2 separate regions of the Homo sapiens genome follow, and region 1 is linked to region 2. The links are contacts of gene promoters, found by promoter capture Hi-C in blood cells and fetal thymus (Javierre and others, 2016). All regions are on one chromosome and are shown on one strand. The core of a region is centred on a gene start or on the middle of the fragment in contact, and the rest is flanking DNA. Distances in the headings are between cores, read along the strand shown. Region 1 overlaps DPYSL3 (dihydropyrimidinase like 3). Region 2 holds the start of STK32A (serine/threonine kinase 32A).

What was found. Contacts are between HindIII fragments. The CHiCAGO score rates a contact against its expected background, and 5 or more counts as called.
Region 1: a contact is called between a fragment that was not itself captured here and the fragment with the promoter of STK32A in region 2, in 2 of 17 cell types (M1 macrophages and M0 macrophages). The highest score is 5.9, in M1 macrophages.

The regions. Positions count from the first base shown.
Region 1 is chr5:147,454,281-147,459,435 of GRCh38, reverse strand. The region is part of intron 1 of DPYSL3 (dihydropyrimidinase like 3); the gene reads left to right. Among named protein-coding and RNA genes, the nearest start is that of DPYSL3, 53 kb to the left of the region's middle. RefSeq lists an enhancer at 2,988-3,489. The HindIII fragment of the contact is 650 bases long and covers 3,476-4,125 here.
Region 2 is chr5:147,232,021-147,236,618 of GRCh38, reverse strand. STK32A (serine/threonine kinase 32A) reads right to left here and starts at 1,593. Exons shown (of 13, transcript NM_001112724.2): 1 at 1,420-1,593. STK32A-AS1 (STK32A antisense RNA 1) reads left to right here and starts at 1,760. Exons shown (of 4, transcript NR_147190.1): 1 at 1,760-1,906. The HindIII fragment of the contact is 14,744 bases long and covers 461-4,598 here.

The DNA of each region.
Region 1 (5,155 bases), core at 2,551-5,050, 220 kb before region 2:
CCAAATGCTTAATTAAGGCAGCTCTAAGATTAAATGTTTATTTATGTAATATAAGAACAGCCTATATATTTCACATAGGCCTAGTATATACATTTTCCCCTTCAAAACTCTTCTATATTTATTTTAGAACTTTTTTTTCTGAATTTTTCAAATCAGGACCAAGGGGCAAATGTTTTCTCATATTAAGACAGCAACATATAAATGTATTTTTAGAAAGTAAAAAATATTTTTAATGGTCAAAACTAGGTAAATGGCTAGGTCCTTATTTTAAATGTTTTGGAGATTAAAGGACAGAGAATATTCTGGACTTTCTCCCCTGCCTGTTCAGTCAATCTCCCCCTTTTCCCATTGATGCGACTCCACTCCAAGCACTGTAAAAGAGCTGGGGGCTATAAAGATAAATAAGACATAGTTCCTGGCATAAATAAGTTTAGCAAAAAAAAAAAAAAAATCAAAATATTAAAAATAGTGTTAGGAGTAGCTGCCATTTAATTAACTTGACTTAAGAGCTTTATGAGAATAATCTTATTTAATCTTCAGTATGTTCACTGTCCTTTATTCCCCTATACACTGTGTTCTCCCTGCTCTCTTAAGGAGCTTAGATCCCTTGCTTCATCCTCAGTTCCCTTGAGTTTTTCTCTCCCTTCTCAGCACTCATCTTAAAGAGCCCACATTCAATTCCACACCCTACCTGCTCCTTGCCTGCACATATGCTACTGTAAGTGGCTGGAGGAACATCCACAACCAGGCTTACTGGTCTCTCTTTAAATTTATGGTCACCGTTTGAAGGGAATCTTTACTGCTGCTATTACCGGAAAGGGGTCTCGATCCAGACCCTAAGAGAGGGTTCTTGGATCTTGTGCAAGAAAGAATTCAGGGTGAGTCCATAGAGTAATGAAAGCAAGTGTATTAAGAAAGTAAAGGAACAAAAGAATGGCTGCTCCATAAACAGAGCAGCCCCGAGGATCTGCTGGTTGCCTGTTTTTATGATTCTTTCTTGATGATATGCTAAACAAGGGGTGGATTATTCATGCCTCCCCTTTTTAGACCATCTAGGGTAACTTCCGACGTTGCCATGGTATTTGTAAACTGTCATGGCGCTGGTGGGAGTGTAGCAGTGAGGACGACCAAAGGTCACTCTTGTCGCCATCTTGGTTTTGGTGGGATTTAGCCAGCTTCTTTAGTGCAACCTGTTTTATCAGGAAGGTCTTTATGACCTGTATCTTGTGCCGACCTCCTCTCTCATCCTGTGACTTAGAATGCCTTAACCATCTGGGAATGCAGCCCAGTAGGTCTCAGGTCTCGGCCTCATTTTACACAGCTCCTATTCAAGATGGAGTTGCTCTGGTTAACACGCCTCTGACACTGCCAGATAATCATACCATATTTTCCTAGTTCCTTTACTGTCCTGGAAAATGATTTTCATATGAACTCCTCCTCCCTCTCCCAATACCTTCTTTCCTAGATGGTCTTAGCTGATGGCAGAAAAAATAGATGGAGTCAGAAGACAAATTCCATGAAGTCCTTCCCGGAAATATACCCAGCTACTGGACTCTGTGCAAAGATATTCTCCTCTTCAGTGACTGTGGAGGAACCAGTCTTGTTTCTAGCTAAGGGCAAGCCCTCCACTCAAACAATAAATGTCACCTGAGTTGCCTATTCTGGAACTTTCATAGAGCCATTGACCTACTTCTCTCCTGCCTCATAAAGTTTCCTCTCCTGACTGAATCAGCCTCATTGGCATAAAACTAATCAGTGCCCAGGTACCAATTCTACTCTACTGAGCCTTTCTTTGGCCCATATGTTGCTCTGAAATTTTTGGACTGTATCATATTAGCAAAGTGATTCTTCGCCATCTTAATTCATCTGCTCTGAAATCTAGAATCAGGAAACTCTAAAAATGCATAGAGAAGCAAATATAGATACTGTAAAATCTACATTCTAACTACATGCCCTTTAGTTCCAGAAAAGTTCTTCTTCACCTATTTAATCTTTCTCCAGATGCAATTTTAAAAAATTCTTACATTCACTCCCCTAATAATTATTGAGCAATTTCTATGGACAAGGCTCTATTTCAGGCATTCAGTAAATAAACAGACACATCACATACCCTCAAATAGCTTATATTCTGGTGATGGGGAGAATATTCAATAATAAATTAATATGTCATGTGGTAAAAAGTATTATGAAGATAAAGCAGGAAAGGGGGCTAGCAAGTGACAGGTGGTGTAATAAGGATATGCGTTATTATTATATAATAAGAAGAATACGAAGTAAACTCCATGATATTTGGGACTTATTATTCACCTCCATTGCACTAACACTGATAAAAATAATGGCACATAGTAAGCACAAGGTAAATATTGTGTGAATATTTTGAGAATGAATGAATGAATGAATGAATGAATGAGTGATGGTGAGGAAGAGAACCCAGTTAGGAGGTTACAATAATTCAGGTGATAGCCAAATGATGGCTAAACACAGGAAGAAACTTTGCAAATCATGAGAGGAGACCATAGTCTGGATACATTTAAAAGATAGAACTGGCTGGGTGCGGTGGTTCATGCCTGTAATCCCAGCACTTTGGGAGGCTGAGGCAAGCAGATCACATGAGGTCAGGAGTTCGAGACCAGCATGGCCAACATGGTGAAACCCCCTCTCTACTAAAAGTACAAAAATTAGCCAGGTGTGGTGGCAGACACCTGTAATGCCAGCTACTCAGGAGGATGAGGCGGGAGAATTGCTTAAACCTGGGAGGCGGAGGTTGCTGTGAGCCGAGATCACCCCACTGCACTCCAGCCTGGGCAACAAGAGCGAGACTCTGTCTCAAAAAAAAAAAAAAAAAAAAAAAAAATAGAATCAGTAGCATTTGCTGAAAGATTGTCTGTGGAGAGTAGGGGCATGATTGAAGGAGAGAAATCAAGGATGGTGCCAAACCTTTCGCCTGAGCAACTGGAATGGAGTACCCATTGATTTAAGTGTGGAAATCTGTGGTGTGGCAGGTGTGGTAGCCAAAATTAAGTTTCTTTGGGACTGTAAATCAAGTCTATTTCTACATCTTCCTCTCCCTCTTTCAGTTTACTGAGATACCTAAAGCCAAGCACTGCTGTGTATCCAAGGAAAACCATTCAGAGTCATTCTACTGTGGAAAACATCCATACTGGTTCCATTCTTCTCTCTCTTGGCCAGACACAGAGGCATCCTGTGTTGATGGCTGCCTTTCTTATGGCCAAGGAAGGCTTTTTCCTTCAAATTCATCTTAGAGGCTTTATTTTGGTTCAAGAAAGTGAAAGATAATTGAAGGGGATGAAACAAGGAAAATAGTGTTTGTTGTACATTTCTGATGATGGCAACAGCTTGAATCAATTTGCTGTGTTTCTGTGTCTGGCTGGTCACAGCAGCCGGATCCAGAAGAACACATTGCAATTGCCATTCAGCATGGCCTCTTGCATGCAAACCTGACCTCAAAAAAGCTTAACCAAGTCTTGTTATTTGAAACAACACACACACACACACACACACACAATCAAGTGATCAAAAATATGGTATAAATCTATTTAGTAAAGAGTGTTCTGGATTATAATGATGGTAACAGAGGAGATAACTCAGATGTAAGAAAGGCAAAGAAACTTGTAAAATTAAAAAAAAAGGCAGCAGCAGCGGTATTTTTTTTTTAGGATTGTAAATGTCCCCTACATATTTTTGCTTTTCTTGAGAAAAATGTGCAAGATCCTTTCCAGCAAGTTTGGGGCAGTAAAATCTACAGGAAAGATGCAGAGAGAGAGAGCTCTGCTGGTTTCCATAGTATGTAGTTAATTCTCCTTTTACTCTGTTCTAAATATAATCCTGCTCATTTGCATGCCAATCCCCAGAATGCTTTGTAATTTCACAACTCTTGGCTAGTGGTCTCAGCACTTACGCTTTAAGAACAAAGCAAAATGTTTAGGGCGTGCCTTTGGCCCAGTCTTTTTATTCCCCCTTGTGTTTTGCAAGAGTATAGGGAGGTGATCTTTGCTTGGCATTCATCCTCCTTTGCAGAGTATCACAGAAATAAAGTGGAGACTGCTGTGGACTTTTCTTGCGAAGACTGCATTCAGTCCAATTAACCATAAATAACCAGAAGCTTGGATTAACTCACTTGAGAGGGAGTGTTTAAGGGGGGCTTTGTGTGTCCTTGGATTATGTGACCAGTCTGGTTCGTTTCGGGTTTATGGAAAGCCCAAGCCGGAGTATTCTGTATTCTCTTTCTGTGGATGCCTTATATAGTTTCTTTATCGCAAGCACGTCTTCACTTTAATGACAAGATGTCTAGAATTGCCATCAGTGGGCTGCCTTATGGAAACGTGAATTCAAGATTCAACACAGCTTTAGTCATGCTTAGTGACATACAGGATTTCTATTTAATAGAACATTAAGATTGACAATTGGGGAGCGGTGGGAAAATTGTCTTCAAAGGGTTTTATAATTTTTTTTGCATAGCAAGTCTTTTTTTGGTTCCTTAAATTTTATGTTTGGAATTATTTGTCGTGAGAGTTGAGGAGCTCCCTCACCCCCAGCCACCACTCAGACCCCACCCACAGTGGCCTCTCCAAATATGTCTCCCTTTGGCCGTTTGATTTTAGCAGGTAGCTAAAGGACAATGTATTCCATCGCCGAAGGGCCATGGTTTTGCTTGTAATAACATATAAACCTTCGTCTGTCAGCCCTGCCTAAAGTAAACTCGGGATTGTGAGCAGTGCACGTGGTTCATTACTGATGGGGAGCAATAGCAGTTCTACTCCAAATCCATGGCTGCGCACCAGGAACGTGTCTGGGCTACTGCCTTCCCACTCCACAGGTGTTTTCTACTTTTTACTCACAGAGCAGCATTCATGTTCTTTCTTTGATTCTGAGACTCAGTCAGGCAGTGGAGTTTCTTTAACAAGATACTACTTGGATATTTTTTAAATACAGGGAATGGTTGAGTCCACTGCTACCGTGCCCCTTGCAGCCTCTGAGAGCGAGTCACGGCTTTCCATTTTCTAATGTGTATGTTCCGGGTCTGGGGACCCCAGCAGGCCCGCCAGGTTGCAGAGTCGGACCAGTCTCCGGCGTCTGAAGGGGCTGCGCCGCTGTTTACCACCCCGCGAGCAGCAGAGGCGGCGCCCAGCCCTCC
Region 2 (4,598 bases), core at 344-2,843:
TTCATTGCACCTAACATACACAATCCAGTTTAAAATTATTTTTCATTTTCTCTCCCATGTGGATAACCAAATTAGATTTTTTTTTTCATATTCAGAAAGAAATCTACCTTTCTCTCGCAGGAAAATGGAGACATGTCCTTTCCATTCTGCTGAAGAGCCCAGTAGAGCTGTAGGACTCTCTTTTACCAACCCCCCAGCCCTTCCTGATCTCCAGGCACTAGGTCTGCAGTGTTACCTAAGCATCATTTTGAGATGTGAAGAGGACAGCTACCATCCATGAAAATGAAAATCCAAAGCATATGAAATGTAAAAGGAGGAGAAATTTGTCTTGCAGGGACACAGGGAGTTTTCAGAGTCTACCCTGACCTGGCCGATTATCAGATTATTAACTGGGAAATAGTTCCCTAATACCAACCTTTCATCTTTGGCCTGTAATTTGGGGGTTGTCAACAGGTAAGCTTCTCTAACCACCAAGCCTCCCTAGATAAAGAGGTGTGGTCTTCTAGGATTGGAAAACATAGGAGGTGATGCAAGAAAGTTGCAACTTTTGATTAAACATTTTAGGTTTCATTGTCACAGAATGTGCATAGACACAACTTATTTTGTTTGCATTTGAAAAACAGAACTTCTTAGTTTAAGAAATATTTTAAAAATAGGGGGCAAAAACATGAAAAATGCCCAAGTTAATAACACTCTCAGTTAACAATTGTTTATATTTGGTCATCTTTATATCATCATTTTTATTTTTAAAGCATTTTAGGGAAATATTATTTCCACCTTAATCCTAAAGTCCAATTGATTTCCCTTTCACACTTTCCAAAGACAGCCACAATCACGGATGTGATAAACATTTTACAGTCCCCCTTCTATGATTTTACAAACATGACAAGTGTCTTAAAATAAGTCACCTAAATGGCATGAGAGAGTGGATATATTTTGCATCTTGCTGTGTCTATCTGCCATCATACTTCTGAAATCTAGGTACAGGCATGCTGATCCCTACAGCTCTGATTTTAGCTTTTTAAGTGCTGCATAGCAGTCCGTTGTGTGAATACACCACATTTTATTTTTTAAGTCCTGGGGGAAAAAGTCCTTGTGGAGATGAAGCAATCATCAAAGGCAGCTAGGTTTTGCTTGTTTAGATGCTGGAGAACAAGCAGAAACACCTCCACTCACTTGTCTCAACCCAGCAAATATTTATTGAAGTCTGTCTGGGTCTGCACATGAGTCAGTGCCAGGCAGGGGAACCTGGATGGAGTGCAAAATAGCTGGAATTGGCCCTAGCCTGCATTTAGTTTTGTGAGTTATCTTGATCAGCAGCCTTTGTCTTCTCTTCTCCTTGCACTTCCTAGCTTCCCAACAGTACCCTTAGTATGCAGGTTTATTGTTATTATTCGTTAAATCTAGACCACCACTCACCTAGTCTCGATTCTTCCTTCATTCCTCCCATGAGGCTCGGAGCGATGCTTTCATCCAGGGAACAGGGACTAAGAGAAGAACTCCAAGAGCAAGGAGCAAGAAAAGGCACCTATCTGCCCGGAAGCGGCGGAGGCTGCGAGCGCCGGGCTGGGCTGGGCTGGGCTGCGCTGGACTGAGCTGGGCTGGGCTGGGGAGGCACCTGCGGCTGCCAAGGGGTCCGAGCGCCGCCCAGCGCACAGCTACCCCGGAGGGGCGGCTCCTTGGCCAGGGAAGGAGGCGGGATCTGCTTGCCAGCGGGCGTCTCCGCTTAGCGCTCTCTCCAGAAACCGCTGGGCAGTCTCCTGGGTGAGCGCCAGACGCCTGGGGTCCGTTTGCCGCCTGCTGAGACTAGACAAGGACCCCGGGAGGGCGACGTTGGGGGAGAGGGCTACGGATGGAGGTCCCGCCGCGCTTGGGCCGGGTCCGGAGCCACCAGGACGCACAGCGGGTACTATTACGCCCCATATCACGGGAACTGCCTCACCCCCCCTGCGATGTGGATCGTAATAGCCGGGGGGGGGGGGGGGGGAGAAGGGGGGTGCTATTACTCTCCATATCGCCGGGGGTGCCTCACCCCCCTGCGATGTGGATCCTAAAAGCCGGGGGGTTGAGGGGGAGAGGGCGGTGCTATTACTCCTCATATCGCGGGGGAAGCCTCACTCCCCTGCGATGTGGATCGTAATAGTCGGGGGGGAAAGGGGGACGCTATTAATCCCCATATGGCAGGAGGGTGCCTCACACCCCAGCGATGTGGCTCGTAGTAGCCAGGGAGGGAGGGGGGGTCCTATTACTCCCCATATGGCGGGGTGTGCCTCACCCTCTTGCTATATGGGAATTAATAGCATTCTCTCCCCTCTTGGACATTAGAAACAATTTCACAGTGTGTGTGTACACAGCCTGCGATATTGAAACTAACAGCATCCTATCCACCTCCGGTTATTAGGAACAATATCACAAAATGGTGTACACTCTTTGCGAGACTTGGAGTTCTATCGTGCTGTGTTTCCCTGAATATTCGTAGAAATGTGACAGCGTGGGTGTACACCCACTACTATATTGGGAGTAACTTCGTACTCCACCCCCTGGAAATTAGGAGAAATATCACGGAAGGGGTGTAAAGCCACTGCGATATTTGAAATAATATCATGCCCTCACCCACTAGTTATTAGGAACAATATCACAGGACGGTGTATACCTTCTACAGTATTGGGAGTAATATCATCATCTCTTTCTTTAGATATTAGGAACAATATCAAAGGGGGTTGCACACCCAGTGTATTATTGGAAGTAATATCATTCTCTCTTCTTCTAGATTTTAGGAATCATATCACAGGCAGGGTGTACCACCCTTATTATATTAAAAGTAATGTTATCTCCTTTCGACCTGGATATTAAGAACAATAAGAAATGCGTTCTGTACATCCTTTGAATATTGGTAGTAATACCATCTTTTCCCTTCCTGGATTTAAGAAACAATATGACTTGTGGGGTGTCCACCCCTTGCAATATTGGGAGTAATATCACCTCTCCCCATGAGGTTATTAGGGACAAAATCACAGGGTGGGTGTACACTTCCTACGTTATTAAGAGTAATATCATCCACTTTCCCCCTTTATATCAGGAACCATATCACAGAAGAGGTGTACACCCCCTGTGATATTGTCAGTAATATCATCTCTTCCCCCCTGGATATTAGGAGCAAAACCACAGGGGGGATGTACACCCACTGCGATATTGAAAGTAATAGCAGCCTCTTTCCCGCTGGATATTAGGAAGTATATCACAGGTGTGTGTGCACCTTCTGCGATATTGGTAGTAATATAAACCTCTACTATGCTGCCTATTAGGAAGAATATACAGTGGGGGGCGGGGGGGTTACAACCCCTGCGACATTGGGCATAATATTATTATTTTTCCCTGTACATTAAAAACTCTATCAAAGGGGTCTGTACACCTTCTGCGATATTGGGATCAATTTTATTCTCTCCCCCACTGAATGTTAGAAACAATATTACAGAAGGGTGTACACTTCCTGCGATATGGCCAGTAATATCATCATCTCCTTCCCTGGATATTAGGAACAATATCACCATTTGTGTACATCCCTTGCGCTGTTGGGAGTAACATTATTCTCTCTTCCCCTTGATATTAGAAATAATATCACAGGCGGAGTGTACACCCCACCCCCTGCGATACTGAAGGTAATATCATTCTTTTTTAACTTAGATATAAGGAACAGTATCACAGGGGGCGTGTACACTTTCTTCGATACTGGGAGTAATACCATCCTCTCAACCCGTAAAGAGCAGGAAAAATATCAAAGAATGTTTGTACACCACTTGCGATATTGGGAGTAACATCATCCTCCCCTCACCTGGGTATCAGAAAAAATATCATGGGGCATGGATGTACACCACCTGCGATACTGGGAGTAATATAATGTTCTATCCCCATGGATATTGAGAACAATATCACAGAGGTGGTGTACATCCTCTGCGTTACTGCGAGTAATATCATCCTCACCCCCCCTAGATATTAGGAGCAATATCACAGGAGGATTATACACCCGCTGCAACATTGGGAGTAATATCATCCTTTCCCTTCTGAATATTAGGAACCATATCTCATGGGGGATGTACAGCCCATTCCATTTTGGGAGTATAATCAATTTCTTCATTGCTGGAAATAAAAAACAATATAACAGTGGTGGTGTACACACCCTGTGATATGGCCAGTAATAACCTAGACTCTCCCCCGGGATATAAGGAACAATATCAAAAAAGAGTGCATACTCCCAGCGATATTGGGGTTAATATCATACTCTTCCCCCCTGGATATTAGGAACAATATCAAAGAAGGGGTGTCCACCCCTTGCCATATTGACAGTAATATCATCCTCTCCCTCCCTGGATATTAAGAACAATACCACAGAGTTGGTGTACACCCACTGCAATATTGAGAGTCATGTCATCCTCTACCCCCTGGATATTAAAAACAACATCACAGAGGGAGTGCACAACCCCCGCGATATGGCCAGTAATATCATAGTCTCCCCCACTGGATATTAGGAACAATATCACATGGGCGTGTACACCTCCAGCGCTATTGAAAGTAATATCATTCTCTCTTCCCCTGGATAT